Linked DNA regions of Homo sapiens: region 2 is linked to region 1. The links are contacts of gene promoters, found by promoter capture Hi-C in human tissues and cell types (Jung and others, 2019). All regions are on one chromosome and are shown on one strand. Each heading gives the region's core, a stretch centred on a gene start or on the middle of the fragment in contact. The rest is flanking DNA. Distances are from core to core; before and after follow the strand shown. Region 1 holds the start of RTKN2 (rhotekin 2). Region 2 has its middle 120 kb from the start of LINC00845.

Region 1 (4,915 bases), core at 754-3,253:
AGCCCAGGGATGATGGGTTAAGAGATGCCCAAATGTTCTCTCTCAGATATTTGAGATGGTAAAACGTAGTACTTCTCACTTTCTGGGAACTGTAAAATAAATAGATTGATAGAGAAATCCTCAAGCTAATGAAGCCACTGCATATGAACTCTTTAAATTTTGTAGTTTCCATGGATGAGTATATTTTATGTGCATTACATACACCAGAGAAAACTGGCTGATGAAATTAGCAGTAACAAGTAAGGACTTGAGGATAAATAAGGAAACATAAGTCCTACTCCAAGGTATTTTAATCATCATATAATAATTAAGTACTTAAGCAATTCCTGGGGACCTCTCCCGGTGTATAATAAAAACAGGACCACATCATAACTTCTTCTCCCAAGAGAAAGGTCTCTTGTAACAACTGTATTCTACAGATAATTACTAAATATGATCTTGCCTAATCTCTTTCTTCTAGTATCATAAATAAATGTATCTCCAGTTAAATATCTGGTTTTAACTCATCAAATACTCCTCTATCAGTGTCCAATTCTAAACTGGTTGACTCACCTCTGTTTTAATGAAGTGCTGGCTTCTACATGTATTTTGATCTGCAACTGAGAGCTGTATGTGTTGTAAGTACTATGTGTCTGATGATGGGCTCGCGGTGTGTTTTTCTTTTGAGTCAGGTACTACAGCTAGGCTCATGCAGCCTCATACTGAGTAGGAGATAATTATACCACAAAGTGGTAGCATAAGACAGAGATGTGCATTGGAGGAAAGGGCACATAATGATTCTGAAATTCAGACCTGTGTTTGTAGAAAACGAGGTGAGCTCCGTGTTGATAATTTTGAACACATATTTTATTGTTGTAAGGATATGGGTCATTCATAATGCAAGGGGACCATCATTCCCAACTGGGAAGCTTCTAGTATCACCTAGTCCAAAAGGTCTTAAAGAGGCATTTTACCTATTTGAGGAAGGGTATCCATTATATTTTTAAAGTACATTCTCAAACCAACTGCTTTTAAAAGGGTCTTGCAGTTAAAATGACCACATAATATCCACTACGGGATAAGTGCAAGATTGGTGCAACATTGGGACAACAGACCCAGACAGGGTCTGTCCCAGGCAAATGAAAAAACATGGGCACCTATTTATGGAGGAAAAATGCCCAAGGGTTTCTAGGCGATGAGGGCTGGAGGGTTGATTTGGTAGACTCTTCAAGAAGAGGCTTCCTCTTGCCTTTTCAAGGGGGAAATAAAGATAAACTAGGGACAATGAATTTTAAGGACTTTTCAAGGGTGTGATATCTTTGCTGCTTTCATTTTGATTTTTAAAAATCCCATGTTTCCCTTTATAATTAACAAAATCCATGAATTAAAATGGGTCTTTGTGCTAATCTTTAGGGCAGCAAGAAATGAGGCTCTTGAGAAATAGTACCCCATTTTGCTATCACCTTAGATGTTGGAGAGGGAAAGAGAGGGCGAGAGAGCTGAAAGAAATCCTTCGCAAGAAAACAAAGTAAGTGGACAGAGTAGTTGGCGGGGAACATCTGGGATTATAAACACTGGGGGCAAAGACAAGACCTTGTGAAATGCCTGACATAGTATCTCACGAACCTGATGAATAAAACCATGATATCTGGGTGACCCTGGTGACAACGCTGGGAAAGGTGAGAGGAAACAGAGAGCGCTGTGTTTGAGAGTAATGTTATTGGTTCTTTAGGAACGAGACCGTGGGCTCTTAGTGACGCTGTGGGTTCCTGAGTTGTCTGGGAGTACAGGGACTGCAGCCTCGAGTCTGTCCAGCTACGATCACTTTGGAAGGCCTTCGGTGGGATGCGGGCAGAAAGCTCCCAGTGCAAAGGGCGTGCCACGAAAACCACCAGCCAGAAACCTGAGCTGGGACAGGTGCGCTCCGCCGCCGAAGCTTTCCCCGCGGCCCCTCCCACTCCCGTCCCAGGCCCGCCCACATCCCTGTCCGGGACTTAAGTCCGGCACCGCCGCCCTCTCCCCCGCCCCGCCGCGCTAGAGCCTGGGGTCTCGGCAACTTCCGGCGGCGGGAGCTGCAGAGCGCAAGGCGCGCCCACTGCGCGTGCGCTTCGGCCCGGCTCCTCCTGCGCCCCCGGCCCCTGCGACTGGGACTTGGTACGGCCGGGCGGTTGGCGTCCTCTGCGGCTCCTGCCAGGGGCGGGCTTTTCAAATCTTCCCTTTGAAGGAGTGGCGACGGCCCGGACAGTTCGCGTTGGAGATGGAGGGGCCGAGCCTGAGGGGTCCTGCGCTCCGCCTGGCGGGGCTTCCCACCCAGCAGGTGAGTTGCGGGAGGGACCCTGCCGCGGAAGGTGAGGGAGCCGGGGTTCTGTTCCTCGCGCATTTGCTTTGTGGAGGAGTCGGGAAAGCCTCTCCCCCGCTCCTCTATTTCAGCGGTGGCCAGAAACAAAGGGAGGGATTAGGAGACTGCGCTCTTGGGGCTCTAAAGGGCCTGGACATCGGAACCCCCGAGTTTCTCAGGCAGCTGAGGTCCGGATTGGGAAGGCGGTGCCGGGGTCCAGGCGCGCGTTTGCGGGCGCACCTGTCCGCTGCCCTCCCCAGGCTTTGGACGCCTGTCTTTTTGCAGGTGTAGGTGATGCCGGGGAAATGGGAGCCCCTCGATTCCCAAGAAACCCAGCGAGGCCAGTGGACAGCTGGCTTATTACGGATTTAATGGGAAGCACAGTAATGGAGCGATGTCTACACACAACACAGAACTGGTTGGGGGGAGGGGGTTCGGAGCGGAGTAGAGGCAAACAGCAACCTCTGCACTTTAGAAAAAGTTGAAGGTTTGATACTGGGTTCTTTCTCAAATCATTTGAAAGGAAAGAGGGAGTACACGTGACATTGGATAGAAGTTTGATGTTTGCTTTTGAGCCATGTAAAATGCGTTAGAAACCTTTTTATTTTACTTTTTACTAAACCAACATTATTTCTTGGCAGCATCAGTTATTAAAATGTTACCACTTTTCACTCTTAACCATAACTTTAGGGTCTTAAAAGAAAACTCTGATGTCTTTAAGCTGGACCTTCACTTCTATTTTAATCTCTACCTTCTTTTACCTACTTCAGAAATAGGTTAAGCCATATGAAATTGCCAGTTTTGTAGGTCAAAATTGGTAGAATATTTGCAATTTCATTCATATGGAGGCACCTGATATCTTTGTTTAAAAATCTGGGATTTCCTTAGCAGACACAAAATTATTAGTTTTCAATAATACTGTGAAAAATAAAGCAAGACATTAAGATTCATTATGCAAAAGAAGTCCAGTGTCTTTATCAGTAATACTTATGCTGTTTTATGCCAGCATTTTCAAAAATTTCAAAGATTTTGATGTACTTTTTTTCAGTCCTGTCCTGTTATGTACTTTGGCTGTCCTGATTGCTAACAAAATCTTGATTTATAGTGAATTGCCATTCTATTGATGTTCTTGCACCTATCATATAGGTGTAGGTGTAGCTGTCCAGGTGTATTTATTGAGCTGCAGGCTGCAAGAATAGGAATGGTACAGAAGCGACAAGAGGATAAAATCATGAAGTTTAGTTGCATGGAATGAAAATAAATGTTTAAATATACATAAAGCCTGGGTTATTTACATGTGGGAAGATACAATACTTAATTTCTTAGGCAGGACAAAATCAAAATGATTGAAATGTGGAATTACTTCCTCAGTTTGGATTTGAAGAAAAAACACAAAATAGTAGTAGGTTGCAACCTAACAGGAATATTGAGAGTCAGATAATTTTATACTTGACTAACACTGAATTTTTATTTGGTATTTCCTTTGATACATGAATGAAGCTGCCACGTAATCGAGATAAGGCCAAAGATTTTGAGGTGGTCACACACTGGTCAAACACCTCTGCTGAAACCCTGGAGTCCTCTGCGACTCCTCACAGCATAGAGTATTGGCTTTGGAGTCAGATTCAGGTCAAACCAAACTCTTCTTGTTGTGCAACCTTGAATAAGTTATCTCTGTTTTCTAAGTTTCAGTTTCCACCGTTGTAGCTTGGGTATTCCGCCTATCCCAGACAGCTGTTGGAATTGGAGAACCTCTCTAAAGTACTTATCACAGCACCTAGCACTCAGGATGTGCTTCAGAGATGACTATTGTTGTTATTATCCTTTGTCCTATTCATCTGAGTGGTTAGGGCAGTCCCCTACTTTTCTTACAAATGTTTAAGCTTTTGGCATCTTAATAAAAATAAAATTCAAAAAGTAATACTATCTCATTGCAGAAAAGTCAACATATACAGAAACATGAATTTAAGAATTCGGTCTCCAGTTCCATTCCCCAGAATGGCCGCTGTTAACAATTTCCAGACTTTTTTCTGTACATAAACAATTCTTAAAATCCACACAGTTTCTTTTAGCAAAATGAGAACGTACTGTATTTACTCTTTTCTTCTTCACCTTGGTCTTTGTTAACATGGCTTAACTATATCCATTAGGTGAATCATAGTTTCTGTCTTGATTACTGCGGTTGTCTTACCGGGAGTTCAACTTCAGGTTTTTTTAGTCAGTTTTTAATACCAACAATAAAGCCATTTTCTTTGCACTTCCTTCATGCTAGGCTAGCTCTTAAAACCTAGTAGGTTTCTGTTTCCTACTTAACCTAAATTTCTGTTTTTAAGGTATGCTCCTATTTCATTCATAGCCTTGTCCATATATTTTTATCAGCCTGACTTTAACTACTTATAGCGTCAGGACAGTGACACAGGCTTCTGTTTGACTTGATTAGAGGCAAGCCCTTACTCAGAAAATTGGAAAAGAAATAAGAGTATGATGGCCTTACCTCATTCTCTGCTGTTCCTGGAGACTGGCATTCAAACAATCCTAAAAGGAATGGTTACAGAGAGACCAGCTTTTGTCTTTGGTCCTAATCAGCCTTGACTCTAC
Region 2 (4,915 bases), core at 1,648-4,147, 1.1 Mb after region 1:
ATCTGTATTTTTAAAAGCACTTCAGATGACTTTTAGACAAACTAAAATGTGAGAATCACTGTGTAAAGTATTTGTGTAGGCTATGCTAATGGAACACCATATGTTCTCCTTGCCCCATAAAAGGGCATTATAATTTGGGCCTTGGGTGATAACACCCCTCCCTCTTTTGTGCAAACCACAAGATTGTCTCCATTGTTAGGACTTAAGATCAGACAATTTGAAGAGGGTCCACAACACCTATTATATTCAACTGTATAGGTAGTAGTGACTGACAGTAACTATAGCAACACTAGTAATCACAGCAAATCCTGGAGAACATTTAGTAACCCCCTATAACATGATTTACTCATATATATCCCACATATATAACCTTGGAAAGTAGGAGTTATTCTTCCCCTGTAATGAGTTGCAAAAACCAAGTCTCAAAGGGATCAGCTGATTTGCCTAAAGACACTTGACAAGAAAGTGATAAGCCAATGACTTAAATGTGCGTCTGTCTAGCTCCAAACCACTAGCTCCGCAGTCCCACTTATTCCTACAAAGATACAGGGGTGGTCACTGGAAGACATTCTGCTCCTTGAACCAGACCTACCTTCCAAGCAAACACAGCAATGTGTTGACTGCACTTTTGGCCTTCCTGCCTTTCTTCCAGCCTCTGATGCGGTGTTTGCTTTGGGGGTTCTCTTCTCCTCACTGACCAATGACTGTGATAATGCAGTTGGCATTTCCTGTTGCCATGCTGAAGGTGGAAGACAGTGATGTAGTGTGTGAGAGAGAGTGCCTTCCAGATGAAATGCAATGTGTAAATGGAAATTGTCATCATTATCCTCTGAACAAATGGGGAAGATGCACATTGGTTCTAGCAGAACTGGAAGAAAAAATTGGAGTTTGAACAAAAGCATTATTAATTTAAGAAACTGCCTGAATTTGCCTCTGGCAGTTTTCTTTGTAAACACCGTTAACACCCTGGAATGCTTGAATTGTATCTAAATGCATAGCTTAAATATGTAAAAACAGAAACCTAGGCATTACTTTTAGGCACCCAGAGAATTGTTTGCTTCTAAAACCTACCAGAACAAAATAAAACTAGCATATGAGACTTCAGAATTATGAGGGTCTAATATTTCTTATGAAATTGTTTCATAGAATATAGAATTGTTGATCTCCCTTTCCTCCCTCAAAACCAGATATAATTTACAACTGACAAAATACAGCTTTGTAATACTGCTCGTGCAGAACGTGCTTGTATTTGTATTTTTCTATAACATGAACATGGTTTAGAGGGTAAATGGCTGGAGTAAGGGATATCTTTAAGCAACAGGGTTATTTAAGTGGCCAAGTCACAGCTGAGTAACTTTGTAAATGAGCCTGGTAAAGTCAACTCCACAGAGAAGAATATTTGCATATTTATGACCTCATTCTGAAGTGGAAAGCCCCTCGCTCAGGCACCATGGTGGGAGGCATTCAGAGAAGGTAAGTTTTGGACACTAGAATCAAACAAGTTATACTTCCCAAAAGGAAAAAATATGTATGATTTTGAGTGAGGTTATTCTAATTGAAAAGCCATCCCACCATCAGCGAGTTCTCAAGTTTTCCCAAGTAATCTAGAAAGTAAACATGGGCTTGCCAGTCCTCTGGCACCTGCAATGCATTTGGGGAAATCCTGTCTGCATTTGATGTGCTTACACACCCTGGAGCCCCTCCCCTCCCCCATTTAGAAGCACGTAGAGATAGGACAGGTAAAGTAGTTGCTGCTAGCCATGAACCAACCAGTCTATGGGGCAAATTGCTAGTAAACTAGCATCTCCATGGGCCATGAGAGCTTCAAGGCTTGAATCTCTTGCCAAAGTACAGAATAATCATGACAATGACCAATATAGATGGGATCTTACAATGGGTTGGGTAAGCACTTTATATATATTGTATGATTTAATCCTCCCAACAATCTTGTTAAGCAATTTCTTATTAAATTAATAAATGATTAGCAAAGAAATAAATAATATTAAAATGACTATTATTTTCATTTTACAGATGAGGACACTAAGGCACAAAAATTATGTAATTTGCCAAAGGTAAAACAGCTAGAAAGCAACAGGAACAGGATTCAAAGTCAGTCTGTCTCCAGGATCCATAGAGTCATCACTAGTCATGGGAAGATTGGGCTTTCAAGTTTGGCACCATAGAACTGAATTCCAGCTCAGTTACTTGGGGGTCAAACATGATCCTGAGTAAGTGACTTAACCTGAAAAATGGGTACAAATCTGAACTAGGAGGATTGTCATGAAGAAGGTACTTAGTACTTAACAGGCACTCAATAAACAGTTGCTTAAGGTATGTCTCCATCAAACACACCAACAGCTCTGGATATGATCCGATATTGGAATGACATTTATGAAACTTGAGTCATTTTCCTAGCTAAATATCTGAGAGGCATAAAGTAGGATGATCGCAAACCATAAGGGAAAGAATTCTATGCATGCACACATGCAAATATACACACACTGGATTCTTATAGAACTCAGAAAACAGAAAACACTTGCTTTCTATATTCAATTATTTGCAAACCCTACCAAAAGCTGACCAAAGATCTAAACTTAATTCTGAATCTAATTTTTGTTGGGAGAGGGTCAGGAATTTATACTTTGAGTGTCAATAATATATATAAAATTTTAAACACAGAACACTTTATATACACAAATATATAAAAAATACAAAGTATGGGGTGTGCATGTGTTCGTGTGCCTACATGTGCATTCTCCTCTAGGGTGGTTTTATAACAAATGGACCTCATTGCTACAGTCCGTTTTGAAACTTTCTCTTGACTGGGCTAGAATGATCCCAAACTACCCAAAATTGATTTCACTTAGGTCCTGTGTCTCTGACATTATTAAGAAGAGATTTTTTTCCTTTCGCAAACAATTTAACAATTTTTCAAACATGGGTAATGACCTTACTTTTCCTCTTATCCTTTTACCATAGGCCTTCGTGTGACACAACTAGAAAAGCACATGAGATTATGAATGACTTTTTGCTGCCTTTCAAAGCAGGAACCATGAATTAGTATTGATTGTGCTTTCTCATCCATTTCCCACTTATTTGGTTTCTTTCTCTATGTTCTATGGGAAAGAAAAGGCTATTTTAAGAGTAGAGAAGATTGGTTGCTTCTTTTCAAAAGCCTTTTTACCTTGTTCTACTGGGTTTAAACTCAATGGATTCATCCAAAATAATTTTCTGTTCATTGGGATATTATTAAGAAGATTGCCATTATGGTAAGTTCTAATATGTATTTTTTAGCTCTGGAAGACACAAGAAGTTCCCCAGGCTGTAAATATCCCCCAGTAGTACCCTGCCACTCTAGTTTTGTTCAACATCTTCTGGTAAAATGTCCATGGAGAAAAAGAGAGTAAAATGATTTTCTGTTTGTTATTTTGATAGACAGGAACAGAGACTTGTTCAAGTCAATTAAAGAAAAGAAAGATAGAGTGGACTATCACAAAGTCATTGTAAAAATACAGGAGGATATGTAATTCAACTTTTCCCCTAAATGTACAGAAGAACCATTTGCTGCTTTCTCTGAACACTTCATTGTGTCTTTGTCCTCCTGGAAAAGTGTGGATGTGATGCAGGACAAGCAAAGCCTCAGATTGGGGCTTAGCCTGGGAGGGTTCTTGACTTTGCCCAGGAAAGAATTCAAGAGCAAAGTGGTGGTAATAGACAGCAACTTTTATTGAGGTGGTAGTATACAGCAGAGGTACTGCTTTTGAAGAACAGGGCTGATCCATAGGCAGTATGCCCAGAGTAGCAGCTCAGGTGCAGTTCTACAGTCATATTTATACCTAATTTTAATTCTACACAAATTAAAGGGTAGATTATCCAGAAATTTCTAGAAAAGAGGTGGTAACTTGTGGATCATTCGTTCATTGCCATGGAAAGGGATGGTAGCTTCTGGGTGTTACCATGGCAATGGTAAACTGACATGGCACTGTTGGGCATGTCTCATGGAGAGGTGTTTTCCTTTTCCCTGTTTAAGCCAGTCTTCAATCTGGCCTGTAGTCTAAGCCCTGCCTCCAAAGTAAAGTCCCAGCTCCTACCTCAAATGGGCCTCTTCTGTCTGAGAAGCTCCTCACTTTTCATAGCAGAGAAGGAGGCAGAGGATGTAGGCTTTACCAGCCAGGTAATTCACTGTGGCAGTCACCAGGAGTAACACATTGCAGCTAGGTCTAAGATGACTTGTAGGTGTCCTGCCTTGATCCCTGTGAAGATGGTGGTATCATTTCACTAATATAGAGATGGCAGGTCTGGAGAAGAGGAAGATGAGTTTGCATTTGCATTTGTACATGTTGACTTTGGGGCACTTAGGAAACATTTGGGTGCATTGCTGGGTTTGAATCTCATGAGGGATTTCAGCTGGAGGAACAAGTCAAGTGACCTGCCCAAGCTACATGGCTTGGTGGTGGTGGTGCTGAGACTTGAATGAAGTCAGGCTAGAGTGTGTTCTACCAGCCTGTGCTGCCCGAGTCAAGCCAATCAGTGAAATTATGAGCTGTAAAGCTGCCTTTCTGGCCCTAACCTCTTCCTCTTGCTTTCTGTTCCACTGACTCAGCTTGCATCCTTCCCATGCCTCCTAGTTTCTCCTTCTCTTTTATCTTAATTTAAACTGTGTTCAGAAAAAGATCCATGAATTATGGCCTTCCCCAGGGGGCTTGAGTCTTTAACAACAACTCACCTTGGGCAATGATCATGATGGGAATAAACATGATGATGGAAACTACAATGATGACGAGAGTAACAGGATTATTTATGGATATTATTTTTTATTTTGTCGATCCTGGGTTTTCCCCTGTACCTTTCTAAGTCTATGCAGATTGTTCTTCTATCTCAATGAATATTTGCACTGAAAGATCTGACCCTACCC

Evidence for each region. The method cuts DNA at HindIII sites, captures the fragments that hold promoters and counts their contacts. A contact is called where the count stands out against the background at its distance.
Region 2: a contact is called between a fragment that was not itself captured here and the fragment with the promoter of RTKN2 in region 1, in 1 of the 25 tissues and cell types used here (lymphoblastoid cells).

The regions. Positions count from the first base shown.
Region 1 is chr10:62,265,932-62,270,846 of GRCh38, reverse strand. It overlaps RTKN2 (rhotekin 2), which reads left to right and starts at 2,003. Exons shown (of 12, transcript NM_145307.4): 1 at 2,003-2,296. The coding sequence starts at 2,237. All of the region lies in intron 1 of LINC02621 (long intergenic non-protein coding RNA 2621), which reads right to left. RefSeq lists a silencer at 1,922-2,251. The HindIII fragment of the contact is 3,580 bases long and covers 1,413-4,915 here.
Region 2 is chr10:61,132,120-61,137,034 of GRCh38, reverse strand. No RefSeq gene overlaps it. Among named protein-coding and RNA genes, the nearest start is that of LINC00845, 120 kb to the right of the region's middle. RefSeq lists enhancers at 570-864, 1,287-1,516. The HindIII fragment of the contact is 9,997 bases long and covers 1-4,915 here.